Regions from separate parts of the Homo sapiens genome. Here all the other regions are linked to region 2. Evidence: promoter capture Hi-C in 16 types of primary human blood cells and fetal thymus (Javierre and others, 2016). All regions are on one chromosome and are shown on one strand. Each heading gives the region's core, a stretch centred on a gene start or on the middle of the fragment in contact. The rest is flanking DNA. Distances are from core to core; before and after follow the strand shown. Region 1 overlaps PLRG1 (pleiotropic regulator 1). Region 2 holds the start of RAPGEF2 (Rap guanine nucleotide exchange factor 2). Region 3 overlaps MAP9 (microtubule associated protein 9). Region 4 holds the start of NAF1 (nuclear assembly factor 1 ribonucleoprotein). Region 5 overlaps CTSO (cathepsin O).

Region 1 (2,716 bases), core at 1-2,500, 4.6 Mb before region 2:
CTGTATGTTAACTTAAAAAAGCAATTATAAAATCACAGACAGGCAGAGCATTAGACTTAAGAGCACACATCACTGTGTACGGGTTCAAAACCCAGCTTGGCCAATTACTAGCTGTTTGACATTAGGTAACAATCATGTAACCTCTATGTGGCTCACCTGTAAAATGGGAAGAATAGTGCCTATTTCATAGGGTTACTACAAAGATTTAATAAGTAGTAAATGCTCCATGTAAGCTCCCAATATTAAAGTCATTTTAAGTGTATTAGTGCCACTGTCTTTCATTGTCATATTTTAACATTATTGGTTTAATATAGCAAAGACTGACAGTTCCTTCTATTTATCTTCTAATACAATATTTAAATACTATTTTAACAGGTATACTGCCTGATATACCATCTGTTGTTAGCAGTCATCTAGTCATCCAAAACATAAATAAGCCCATAAAGTTCCTGCCCTCAAGAAGCTTAAATTATACCCTCATAAGGAGGGTAGAGAGCCTGGACAGAAGACGTGCTCTGAATGGAATAAAGGAGGAAAGGAGATGTGGCAGTTACACATTCATTCACTTCATAAAGTCAAATCAATTGCATAATGAGCTGAGAAGCAAAACCAGCACTTATTTCAAGTGGCAGCATATTTTATTATGCTGCAGATAAATCAATAAAATAACTATAGAAAATTCAACAACTATTTCTACCATACTAATACCAGTTGCCATTTACTTACAAACAGATAAACTTATTTCTAAATGCTCATTTATAAGACTAGTTGTATAGCCCATGAATAGTACAACACTAACAGCACTCAAGATAACTGTACACACCAACTTAAAATTTAATAAAAAAAAAAAGACTTTCATATTCAATACATACTAACACAAGTTTCAGAAAAACTCTCCTTGCATTTTTAATAGTGGGCAATAAATACCAACATCACATTATCTTTATCAAAATATATATTACACACAATGTACAAGTAGACAAATAACAGAATTAAATTCCAAAAAATACGTTAATTTACTACCAACTTGAGTTTTAGGGCTATGAAATATGAATGACTAGCTCAGGCTGCTATTTATCTTAATAATTCCAAAGAAGAGGGAAATATGGCAACATGTTCCAAAAGTTAGAAACCTGCTATTTGATGCAGAAAAACTTACTGAATTCATCGCTGTAGGCTGTGGACGGTCAGAAGCCCCAGGATGTCGGTATTCACTTCCACTAGGGGCAGTACGATTTGCATCAGCCCTGGGGCAAAAGAAATAATATTTTCAAAGTAATTAATGCCTCCAGTCATGTATTCTGCAAAACTAACCCTTTATTTTAAATTGTTATAAAGTCCTGATAAAGGAAAATGTCATATAATAGTTATAAAGAAATTTTAAAAAGAAAAAATGTGAACAGTGAAATATGCTTTTAAGATCTTTGTAATTATAATATTTCATACTTGGTCTGCAAAGGTAATGCCACCGCTAAGGACTGTGCAGCTGATTCACTTGGCATTCTCTGGATCTTAGTATCTGCTGTCAAAGCAACCCCTATTAAAATGAAAAATCAACTTCTTTTAGTAGCTGTGTATTATTCATTTACATGCACTTAAAATAAAATGATGAAGGAAAACATACACCAAATGTTTATTATCTCCAGGCAGTGATATTATACAAATTTGATTAAGTTTTGCTCATCTTTGTTTTTAATTTCTACAATAAATACTGCTTAATAACACGTAACTCAAATTTGATTTGATCACAGCCCACATGGTATTAAAGCAGCCCAGAATAGTAAAGTTAATTTCCATTATATTTGGGTATTAGTTTCAAGTCAGTATTAAGCAGTTCCTCAAATACTAACAGAATGTTTCCAAGAGTGGATGTAACTTACTAAAACTAGAAACACCCAATTTCCCTGTACTTTCTTTACATACTAAGCCTTTTGTCCTCTACCCTGTTACACTGGCCACTCCATCTGTGGACCAATGCCTTAATACAGACAGAGGACATGTTTCTCAGATACTGCTTCTAACATTTCCATCATTTTTACAAGCTTAGTGATATTTACATGTCTGCCTAAACCACCAGATAATAAATAACTAGGCCTGCAACAGTTTTACTGTCTTTGAATTCCTAGCACATTGCCTGAAAAATTATACGTACTTAAGAATGTTTGCTGAATGAAGGCATATGAGTATTCATTATTACCTACAAAGCTATGCATGGATGCTTGGCTACTGAGCTTATCTTGCATTTTATAGGCAACAAGAATCTCATTATTGGCTCGTTAGTGAAAATATATGTGACATTTTTAAGACATTTTCAATATATAACAGCTCACTAACCAGGTCCTGGTGGGTATGGATGTGTACCTGCCACAAAGTATTCAACTTCTTGTCCTAAAAAAACACAAAAAAAATCAACAGTAGTGAATTTACCTTATACAAAAGTTATCATCTCTTTAAATGTATCAAGTAATATTAAGTTTTCAACTGGATCTATCAAATTTTCTCAACTAAAGTCAAGCCTCAGAAATAAGGGAAGTTGATCACTTTTGCTTTGATCTCTGTAAACCATGTCCTTGACCATTTGCTATATAGCAATGGTATACAAAGAAGCCCTCCTATCAAGTGACAATCCACTCTGGTATTTCTTCCAAGCAAATGGTTTCCTGTGGAATCTTGAATTCTCTTTACTTATTAAGATTTCAGTATTTAATTTCATCTT
Region 2 (2,700 bases), core at 193-2,692:
TTTGAATTCTTTTATCTGCCTCTCTCCTTTTTTCAGAGCTGTATTGGCACTTATTCATGTTCCTTTGCTTTCAAGGTAGTGGCCTATGTCATAGAGAATTTGATGTTGGCGCTCAACTAAGAGGTGAAAGAGAAATATAGAGAAGCAGTTCCAGCAAGAGTAATATAAAAAGGTCTACAGATACAATTTGTAACTCAGATTCCCTTTCACAAGGTTGGGCAGGGACAGTCCCTTTGCTAGGAAGTCACACAAGCTGTTTAGTGCACACAGGTGACTTAAGGAACCCCAAAATGTTAGCTGACAATCTATTCCAAGTGTTTAAACTAGATGTTGAAAATCATGTTTGAAAAGTTCAACGCAGTAGCTCATACATAAAACTCATTGTGTCTATAGATATCAAAATAAGAACTTGTGGGGGGTGGGGGCAAACAAAAATAAATCCCTGGGACCAGAACAGCAGAGTGGTCCCCGATGCTTGGGCTGACCTTAACACACCTCTACGTGGCCGGGGCAAGGAGTGGGGGGGAGCTGAGGGAATCAGCAGGAGCGGTGACATCTTGAAGGACGAGGTATTGTTTCTGCACCATGTGGGTCCGGTTTGGAAATTTGAGCATCTAGAGGAGGAGGCTTGTTCTGTCCAAGGCAAAGCCAGACCTACCAATAAATGTTTCTGATTATGTCACAGAACTTGCCATCCTGGTCTGTCGCTAAGGAGTGATCAACTTTAAATCTGGAGTGTTTGTTGGTCTAGGGGTGGTAGTGGGTCTGGTGTTGAAACCTCTCTGCCTAATTTCGTGGTCATTTTACTGTCTGAGGTGCCAGAGTGGGCTTGGAAAGCAGGGGAGGGTGCAGCAAATTACAAATAAGCAAAATAAATCCTAAGAGGATTTATCGCCACAGAAGCAACTCGGACGCAACTCTTGGGCTCAAAAAGAATGCCCAGTACAGCCCGGGCTGGTGGGCCGGTCTTTTGCCCAAGGTTAGCTTTCAGCCCCTGGGCGGCGGCGTGGCGCCAGGAGCGGGCGGGGAGCAGCGACCCGACGCGGCTGGGTCTCCTAGTAGGGCGCGTCGGGTGTGGGGAGGGGGCGCGGCGTGAGACAGTGGGGGACACTGCGTGAGGAAAGCCCTGCGCTTCTCTCCGGGGCACCAGGACTTGCGCCCCCTCTTCGGGTCCAGGCCGCGCGCGGGACCCGACAGCCCGGCCGAGGGCTCCGCGACCCACTTGCGGCCAGAGCGCTGCTCACCTGGGCGCCGCCGAAGGTGCCGCTCAGACGCGAGGGCGCGGCCGCTGGCGGGCGGGGAGCGGGGAGGCGGGACCCGGCGCGACGGGGCTGCCCCGCCCCCCGATGATGCGGCGGCCGCCGACTCGCCCCCACGCTGTCACTCATTCCTCACCATGGTTGCAGCACAAAGCAACAAGCCCCAGAGGCCGCTTCCTCCCTGAGGAGCGGCTCCGGCGGCCGGAGAAGGCGCAGGAGGAGGAAGAGGCGGAGGAAGAGGAGGGGAATCGCCGCTTCCCAAACACTCTCTCCGAGGGGGCTGTGCGCGGCTCTCGGCTTTCGGCCCTCGGACGCCCGCGCCGGGAGTCCGAACCCGGGCTGTCCGCGGCCCCCTCTTCCCCCTCCTCCGCCCCGCGCAGACGAGGAACAAAGTTGCCGAGAGCGACTGGGCCGGAGGGCTGCAGCCCGGGCCGGGTGCTCTGGCCGCGGCGGCGCCGGCGCCGGGGCAGCTCCGCTCCGGGCGCGCTGATGGGGGGAGGCGGCGGCGGCGGAGCCCACAGCGGCGGCCCGAGCAGCAGAGGCGGCGGCGGCGGCGGCTGGGCGGCCCGAGGGGATGCAGCAGCAGTCGGGAGGGACGGCCGAGCCCAGTAGACAGAGACCAGGAGCGGCGGCCGAGGCGATCGGGCTTCGCAGCGCCCGGACCTGAGCCAGACCCACCTGGTCCGTCCTCCCGACCGGCGGCCGAGGCGCCCGAGGACTGGGGACGCGGAAGATCCAAGTGATTCTCGGAGACCCCTGGGCGGCGGCTGCGCAAGCCCCTGAGAGGAGGGGGCGACCCTCAGCGCCGTGGGGGAGGAGGCTCCGCCTGCCCACAGCCCTCCCCACTGCCACTCGTACCTCCCTAAAAATAACTCGGGCCCGCTGGGGCCAGGAGGAGCCGCCACTGTCCCCCGAGTGGAGCCGGGGAGGCGTGTCGAGCCAGGGCCGGAGGAAGCCGGCGGAGCGGCGAGGAAGAGGAGGAGGAGGAGGAAGGGGAGTTCCGCCTGCGGGCCGCATCGCACGGCAGCCTAGGGGCGCCGCGACCCTCCCGGCTGCGTCCAGCCCCTCGCGCCTGTACCGCGCTCTCGGCCGCCGGGCCCAGCCGAGCCGCCCCCCCGCGGGCCCCGCGCCGCCGCCGCCGCGGTTTGGCTGATTAGTCGCGGGCGGGCGGGCGGGCGCAGCGCGCAGGGCGGAGGCAGCAGCGGCGCTGGGCCGGGAGGAGGCCGGCCAGGGTGCGGAGCGGCCCCGGCCCGCTCCCAGAGGGGAGATGGCGTCCTACGTAGATAACAGCTTCCGCCAGGCGGTGATGAAGAATCCCCCCGAAAGGACCCCCCAGGTGAGAACGCGGCGGCCGCCTGCCCTTGGCCGGATTTCTGCCTCGCAGGCTGCGTCTTCCCCTGTCCCCCCACCTCCTTCCTGACACAGTTCGCCCCGAGCACCC
Region 3 (2,755 bases), core at 118-2,617, 3.7 Mb before region 2:
GCTGATTTGCATCCAGTATTCGAAACAATGGGAAGACTTTCCATGTATATATTTTTTGCCTGCATTTTACCTGCTATACATATTTATGTTTCTATTGTTCTACAAATGCATTTTTCTCAACTTCAAAATTGGTCTAATTAACATCTTCCTCCCATTTACCTAAAAATGGGCTTATGGATTCTGCCAGAAGATTCCACAACCATACCAAATTGGTATTATTATAAGTAGCTGACAATTTTAGCTACATCCTAAACTCCAGCCAAATGTTCAACCCCAAATCCAAGGGCTCTAGATTCCTCCCTCTATTATCCCCTAAATCCAGAGTATCAATATATCCTATCAATTCTAATTGCCAAATATCTCATTTATTCCACTTTCTACATCCCTGCTGTCGGGTCCTTATCCACTCTTTCCTAGATCACTGCTTCCATGATATTTACAAAATCCAAATCAGATCACATCACTCCTTTCTACAAAATTATTCAATGGCTCCCCATGATCCAATCCTACAGAATAAAAGCTTAACTGCCTTTAAACAACATAAAACGGATTTTATGGTTTTGTCCTTCACTGCCTTATCTACAGCCATTTTGTCATCTGTGTTTCTGAAATGCTGGGCTAACAGTTGTCATGCACACATACCACAATCCCTCCAATCCCTCCTGCTACCATACCTTTACCTAAGCTGATCCCCCTGCCTAGAATATCCACTTCCTGCTTCTCCTCCTGACAAATGCTTGCATGTCTTTTGAGCCTCAGTTTAAGCAGAATATTATATAATGCCTGAAAGAAGGTGTTGAGTCAATTTTTTTTATTATTGTGGTAAGAACAAACATGAGATCTACCTTCTTAATACATTCAGTGCAAAAGACAGTACTGTTAACTATAGGCACAATGTACAGCAGATCTCTAGAACTTACGCATCCCGCATGACTGATACTTTATACCTGCTGAGCATGTTTATAAACAAACGCTAAATAATAAAATGAATAATCAGAACATTTATAGAGTGCTAAATTTATGCCAGTACTATTCTAAGCACTTCAAATATGTGAACTCATTTAATTGCCTCAAACTCCTAGAGGCAGGCAACTATTATCCCGTTTTTAAAGATGAATAAAATGAGAACAAAGAGGTCTCATGCCCAAAGTCACAAACTCTAGCAGGCTGCAGATCTCAGATTAAAGGAGAAGCATCCTGACTCCAAAGTTCATGATTTCAGTCATGTTAGTATTAAAATAAAAACATATCCTGTGAAAAATACTTTCACTTTATAGAGCAACTGTCACTTCAGTAGTGACTATAAAGTCTGGTTATTATACTTTTTACAAAAGACAAGCAAGGACAGAGAAAACCTTCAAGCTCTAATAGTTTCATAAAGCATTACTTGCTACTCAGCAATATCTCACCACATTAAAAACATTGAGTTCCAAACCTGTACAGAAAAAAAAAAAGTCAAAGAATTTAGAGGATAAACTCATGAACCATATTCCCTCTTTCAAAGATAAATCATTCATATATTAATTTATTCATTTAAATACTTATTATATATGCCAGATATTATCTTAGGAACACTAGCCTCAATTTTTACTTTTCAACCTGAAGAACCTGAGAATGACAACTTTAATATATTTTCTACAAAAATTCCACTTCCAGAAGTACTGTCAAGTTCCCAAAAAGAAAAAAAAATGCCTATACTTTAAGAAAAGCGCTTTTTTTGGTAATCAATGTATACAATTACCTATTTAGGTAATTATTTTTATATTACACGTACTGAATATAACATTGCATATATAAGTAGAGCATTTAGGATCCTGATGCCACCTTGTGGTTAAAATACAGTATTTTCTTATTCATTGTAACCCACCACAGGTTTTTTTTTTTTTTAAGGTATGAAATAGGTGGATTATTGCTTTCCTGATTATCTACCATAAACTTCTAATTATATACATCCACCTGTCTCAGACAAATTTTTAGTTGCTATATATGCTCGCATTTTCTTAATAACGAAGTTCAATTATGTTCCTCTTCTCTCCAGCATTGATTTCACTCACTATACTTAGAAGGTACATTTTAACAAGTTAATTGTTTCATTATGCATCTGTTTGCATTTTTGTAGTTTTTTATAGTTTATGAGATGCACTTCAATAAACTCTCACAATTTTGCAGGAATAGAAAGAGGGTTATTTTTAGCTTCCTCATCATGAGGATACTGAAGCTTAACTTATTTGCTGAAGTCATATATAATATACAGAGGCCTTTCCCCCAGTGTCCTGGATATTATTCTAGTGTTCTTTGCTCTGCTTACATCCTTTGCTCATTTCAAAGTTAATGAGATTGTGGGGTCAGGAAGAAAGGAGCAGTTCCCCAATACATGCCTGAAATAAAGTTTTGTCTGACGTTACCACTGGTATCTAATATGCAAAGTATGAAATATTTACCAGCACTGTATTTACTGATGATATGCAAGGAGATTTTTATGAAGGTTAACATCAACTAATAATTCCTTTATAAAATACAAAGAATGAAAAACAAAAAATCCTTAACCTTGCATATACAAGTTCATGAATGGTGGCCCAGGGTATGTGACAGGACTTGGTCTCCGTTTCATTCTATCTTTGTTCCTTTATGCTTAAAATTCAGTAAAATTGTGGGCAGAACTAACTGTAATCCCAGATCACACCAGGAACTTTCCTTTGGAAAACTGAATCTTAGTAGATTTTCATAGGCAATACAGAGATCAAATGGAGATTCT
Region 4 (2,700 bases), core at 198-2,697, 4.1 Mb after region 2:
AGCTCTGAAATCCCACAAGATGATTATACTGCAATCTTAGTACTGCCAAGAAATCCAACCTTGTTTACAGTTGTTACTTCCCCCTCCCAGTACATTTCATACCCTCTCCTTCTACTCAAATCCTTCAGCCTTCTTCACTTCCACTCTCCGCTGATGACTTCCCTGAAAACTAAACTTCTCACCTCCTCAACACGTGTCTATCTTGTTAACCTGTTCAGTACCCCACTCAACACACTCAACTATTTGTAGACAATGTTCAGTGTGGTTTAGTAACATCCCACATGCTGGAGTCCTCTCCAGCCCAGAGATTTCATATTTAAAAGACAGGTGTGGGGGCAAGGGGGAAAGGCTCTCACAAAACGTAAGAAGCATAAGATACTACTAAATAACACTGTTTGGCTACTTTCATAAACACGTGTTCCCTGCAAGGATTCTATAAATTAACGTAATCATCAAGAGCCAGCTTTGAAACACAAAAAATAATACTTTTCCTGATCCCCAATGTATGTGGTTCAAAAAACAAAGCCTAGATGTGATGATAAAAAAAAATCAGATCTGACACAAAACTCAACTATAACCACAAAAGTACAGCCTAAACTGAGTAGTTACGGAAATAACCTAAGATCCTCGGGTTTTCTAAAGTCTAACAAAAAATGATACGATCTATACATAGAACCCTTCAGGCCACCAAATTTAGGAAATAAGTCAGTACTAAGCTCAGATTCACAACGCGACCTGCTTTGAGAGGCAGCGAATAAGGGGCAGTCGGAGCCAATACTTCAACACGTGAGCCCGGAGCACCAACGACCTGCCCACCCTCCAGGGCCCACACAAGCAACCTCTAGGCTCCTAGGCCCCAGCCACCCCCGCCCGTCATACAAGACCTCTCCCCACAGCTCCGGGTCCCTTAGGCACCCGACCTGTCCGAGTCCGAATCCGAGTCCGAGGTCTCCAAGGAGTCCGGCGCCCGCGCAGGCTCTGCGGCTCCTGGGGAGGTGACGCAGTCTCCGCAGGCCGGCGATTCAGCCGGTGGCTGTGGCTGCGGCGCCGGGGTCCCGGCCGCGACGGCGTTCAGAACGGGCTGCAGAGGCTGCTCCCCGGCAGGCTTAACCTCCACGGTCTGCCCAGCGTCCGGGGACCCCTCAAACGACTGTAGCGGCGGCTGTGTCCCTGGCACAGGGGCAGAGCCCGGAGACGGAGCCGCCGGACCTTCCCCAACTCCAAAGTCGGTGCCATTGAATTTCAGAGTTTCCAGCTGAGCGGCGGCGGCCTCCACTACCTCCATCGCACCGCGCCAGAAACCGGGTCGGCCTCAGGATTGGGGCCCCTGGACAAGCTCACGGCTCTCTCCAGAAATAGAAAAACAACTTAGGCAACCGCAGCAACACTGCCTGGGCCCAACTTCCCGCGTTTCTCAGGTAACTACACGCGGAGGAGCCAAAAGACACGCCCCCGCCATTTACGCAGCAACGCTTTCCGAAGAGCGTGTGACGTATGTGGCGCGACGGCGCGACGGCGCTCGCGGGGGCAGGATACATGCGTCATATCTTCGAAAATCAGGATTAGGGGGTCGGGCGCCGTGGCTCACGCTCGTAATCCCAGCACTTTGGGAGACCGAGGTGGGCGGATCACAAGGTCAGGAGTTCACAGACCAGCCTGCCCAACATGGTGAAACCCCATCTCTACTAAAAATACAAAAATTAGCTGGGCATGGTGGCGCGTGCCTGTAATTCCCACTACTTGGGAGGCTGAGGCAGGAGAATCGCTTGAACCCAGCAGGCGGAAGTTGGAGTGAGCCGAGACCGCGCCACTGCACTCCAGCCTGGCGAGAAAGCGAGACTCCGTCTCAAAAAAAAATAATCAGGACTAGGGAGGCCCTAAATCGACCGTTTTCACTGCGTCATGTGAACCATTCAAGGCCTGAATGTCGGATTTTCCTATTGCTGCATGTGAACCAATTCTGCTTGAAGCGCCAAAATGAAGCAGGGATTATACAACAGGGGGGTGCCTGAAGAATGCTAAGTTCTGTACATCAGAAACTTGAGCCAGGAAGTCTTGACAAGACGCTAGTAACTTCATGAAAGTTAAATGAAGTTTATCCATCAATAGATCCATCTGTCGATAGATAGGGTATTAACCATTTTTTCAAAAATGTAACTACAACTATTCCATTTTCCTTTCTCCAAAGTACCCTCAAAGAGAGCAGTAATGGACAAAATTTTGCTGTGTTGTTCATGTTATGGTGATGTCTATATCATACTTAGCACTGTTTCGTAGTAGAGAGATGAGACTATGAGACTGAAATGTACTCACTTATTGTTGGAAACCACTAGTCTAAATTGTGGAGAAAGCAAGCAGAGTTCTTAGGACTGAGGAAGAGATCAGAATTTTCTGGTTTCCTATTAGGTCTTCAGTTTGAGGCATCAGTCCCTGTGTAGTAATAATAATCATTGATACCATTTGTTAAACATGCATATGTGCCAAGGACTGTGCTAAAGATTTTATAAATTATTCACTGAGAATTTAGTGTGTCATCTACAACAGTAGATCTTCATAGAAATGCAAGGCAAGTGTAATAAGAGTAAGGTTTTAAGAAGCTTACAATCTACTTGAAGTAGAGAAGGGCAATGCACAGGAGATAACTAGAAAAATATTTGAAATATGAAATAGAAAATCCAAGTGCAGCAGAAATGGGAAGTA
Region 5 (2,700 bases), core at 118-2,617, 3.2 Mb before region 2:
TTGGATGACTGAGATGTGATTTTCCTAGAGAAATGATGTTTCCATTACAACTTTGATTAAACTTGACCTCAAAGCTGCCTTTCAATGCTTAGATGATTAGAAAAGAAGAGGGATTTCAACGTACCATCTGCTGGTTTCTCACTTGTGTCACAACCTGCTTGTCCCTCCAGTCAAATCTTAACGGCAAAGACACATTGGGGATGGACATATGTACTTCTGCTGAGTATCTGGGAAACTTGGAAGGTTTGCTTCTTAAATAAATGGCTGAGTAGAAACATAAAATGAAAATACAACCAATATTATATTACAATATATTATATTATATATATCATATATATTTGTTATATATAAAGACAATCAATATTATATTATAGGGAGACAACCAATATTATACTAAAAGACAACCAATATTATATTATATTATATCCTTGAGATTCTTTGGGAGGAACTTTTAAAGAAGAAACAGTAGCCTTCTAGTAGACCTGCTATTTTAGATTTTCTCTTGTGCTTTTCTATAACATAAAATGCATTCATTAAAAACTACAAAAGAGAATTCCTACAATAAGGCTGGAGTTGACACATAAAATGATTTGTTTGATAGAACCAGGTCAATAATAAAAATAAGTATAATTGACATCATTTGTTCTATCATAACCCATGGAACCATGTGTGTCCTGAAGAGAAAAAGCACTAGAAAACTGCAGAAGTGATTAGACAATTATCCTTTATAGCCACATGGAAATGTGCATAATTATAACATTCATTTCTTAAGCAGTAATTAGAAGAGACTGGCCATGAATTTATTTTCTTATGTGAGCACATGGTACATGCCTGACATTTAGTAGACACTTAATAAATGTTAACTATTACTCAATATATTAGATTTACAATGAAATATTTATCAAAAGTTAAGCAAGCAAATTAAAATCAGGAAACCACCTAAATAGCAACATCGGACTATACCTTTAAACTCTTCAGGAAACAAATAGGAAAACTGATTTATTCCATAGAAGGCGGTGGAGTTTTCACTGGGAAATAAAGAATTCAAGTATCGATGTCTATTAAGACTTTCCTAGAAGAAAAACAAAAACTATTTCATATCCACTATGTCAGTTTTCCAAAGTAAACTGTGTATAACTAACTTGGAGAAATTTTTCAATTATAAAGTTAAAGCTTGATTTCCTTCAGACTACAATGTAAAGTTGTATAAGATATCCATAGGAGATTCATAAATATTTTCTATTAGAATTATTATCTAATTGCAGACATTTTTTGAGGCTGAGAAAAGTGTATTTTATTCATTTATAATTCCCCATCACCAGGTTTGTTGCAAGCATTCCATATACAGCTGTTAAAGTATTGACATAGTGGGAAAAAAGAAATAGACTGCAAATAAACACTAGATACTAGAAGCAAATTGTCACCTTTAGACATTCACTCATGTGGTTAAACAATTATGAATATGGAATATGTCCTCTTCACCTTTGTGTTTCCCGGAACTAAGTAATGAAGCATGAAAAACAGACTGGGTAAATAAATTAATAAATCAATCTGATTCTATTAAAGCTTTATAGATATCTCTATCTCATGTAGGGTACAAAGGCTCTGTGACAGATGCAATTCTGGAAATATTTGAAGAAGATAGCCTGGTTTCTCTATCTGGAGGGGAAATGTGACCATTATTTACTGATTTCTCAACTTTGAATTTTGTGACAATTTATCTTAAGCTTATCTTTTATATATAAACATGCTTCAATTTCGTAATACTAACCAATTACATAGAATAAATAAAATTTCAGGGGGCTATCATTTGGTACCTTTCCAACCCTAGCGCTTCTACATATTTGTCTATGTACTTATGTGTTTATTGTGTGTCTGTATCAAAAACCTATAAGCAAAATGATGACTGCTTATATGTCTTATTCCTTATGGTGAGACACTCACTTAGCACATGGCTGACACACAATAGATCCTTGATAAGTGTTTGTTGTTGAATAAATAGATAAGTGACATTTTCCATATCATGCCCTTAATAACTTTAAGCTGTTTATTTTTAAGTAAATTATTGCTGGAAGTTGTCATAATCTTATTTTTTTTCCTTTTGTGCATACCTAGGAAGATTGCTAATCAACAAATTAATAAAGTTTTTGAGGTACTTTAAAATAATCTTGATGAAGCAAGGCTTTCAATATAACCTGGATATATAAATGTAAAAATAGAACTAGAATACAAGGTAATTCTGTATATGGCAAATGACAAATATAAGCCAGAGACTATTAACTGCTAAGGAATTCAGAGGATTCATTCATTCAATAAGTACTGCCTGGCCATCTTTGTGAGCTGGAGTAGTCAGGAAGGCACTGAAAATGTAGGATGTTAAGAATGCACAGGAGAGAATGTGGCAGCCATGAGAATGTGCCTCCCAGCCTTCTTTCTATAGGGAGTTTAGCTGCTGCTAGTTGAAATCTCCATGATCACACCAAGGGAAGCCACAGTTCTTACGGGCTGCACCTAGCTCATGACTTAGTGCTAAGGCTTGCTATTTGGGAGACAAATGGGACTCCCCTGACAGCTGGTTTTTGATTAATGACTCCCTGATGGCCTTGCCAAACCAAAGTTTCCTTGGACTGTGAGACAGCATGGAACTCTTCCCCAGTCTTCCTTCCTTTTTTCCTTCACTCAGGGTCAGAATTACATTGC

The links. The method cuts DNA at HindIII sites, captures the fragments that hold promoters and counts their contacts. A CHiCAGO score of 5 or more calls a contact.
Region 1: a fragment that was not itself captured here is called in contact with the fragment with the promoter of RAPGEF2 in region 2 in 1 of 17 cell types (non-activated CD4 T cells); the score reaches 6.0 in non-activated CD4 T cells.
Region 3: a fragment that was not itself captured here is called in contact with the fragment with the promoter of RAPGEF2 in region 2 in 2 of 17 cell types (total CD4 T cells and non-activated CD4 T cells); the score reaches 8.6 in total CD4 T cells.
Region 4: a contact is called between the fragment with the promoter of NAF1 here and the fragment with the promoter of RAPGEF2 in region 2, in 1 of 17 cell types (activated CD4 T cells). The highest score is 6.0, in activated CD4 T cells.
Region 5: a fragment that was not itself captured here is called in contact with the fragment with the promoter of RAPGEF2 in region 2 in 1 of 17 cell types (total CD8 T cells); the score reaches 5.6 in total CD8 T cells.

Annotation. Positions count from the first base shown.
Region 1 is chr4:154,544,677-154,547,392 of GRCh38, forward strand. PLRG1 (pleiotropic regulator 1) reads right to left here. Exons shown (of 15, transcript NM_002669.4): 4 at 2,335-2,388; 5 at 1,447-1,537; 6 at 1,160-1,247. Among named protein-coding and RNA genes, the nearest start is that of PLRG1, 4.4 kb to the right of the region's middle. The HindIII fragment of the contact is 1,579 bases long and covers 462-2,040 here.
Region 2 is chr4:159,101,637-159,104,336 of GRCh38, forward strand. RAPGEF2 (Rap guanine nucleotide exchange factor 2) reads left to right here and starts at 1,443. Exons shown (of 30, transcript NM_001394067.2): 1 at 1,443-2,595. The coding sequence starts at 2,527. RefSeq lists an enhancer at 593-1,284 and silencers at 933-1,472, 1,603-1,822, 1,863-2,152, 1,901-2,195, 2,163-2,582. The HindIII fragment of the contact is 5,553 bases long and covers 1-2,700 here.
Region 3 is chr4:155,369,844-155,372,598 of GRCh38, forward strand. All of the region lies in intron 4 of MAP9 (microtubule associated protein 9), which reads right to left. Among named protein-coding and RNA genes, the nearest start is that of MAP9, 5.7 kb to the right of the region's middle. The HindIII fragment of the contact is 1,698 bases long and covers 519-2,216 here.
Region 4 is chr4:163,165,443-163,168,142 of GRCh38, forward strand. NAF1 (nuclear assembly factor 1 ribonucleoprotein) reads right to left here and starts at 1,448. Exons shown (of 8, transcript NM_138386.3): 1 at 921-1,448. The coding sequence starts at 1,285. RefSeq lists enhancers at 593-1,460, 952-1,031, 1,062-1,181, 1,202-1,401. The HindIII fragment of the contact is 3,845 bases long and covers 1-2,595 here.
Region 5 is chr4:155,942,193-155,944,892 of GRCh38, forward strand. It overlaps CTSO (cathepsin O), which reads right to left. Exons shown (of 8, transcript NM_001334.3): 2 at 964-1,072; 3 at 125-264. Among named protein-coding and RNA genes, the nearest start is that of CTSO, 10 kb to the right of the region's middle. The HindIII fragment of the contact is 393 bases long and covers 1,172-1,564 here.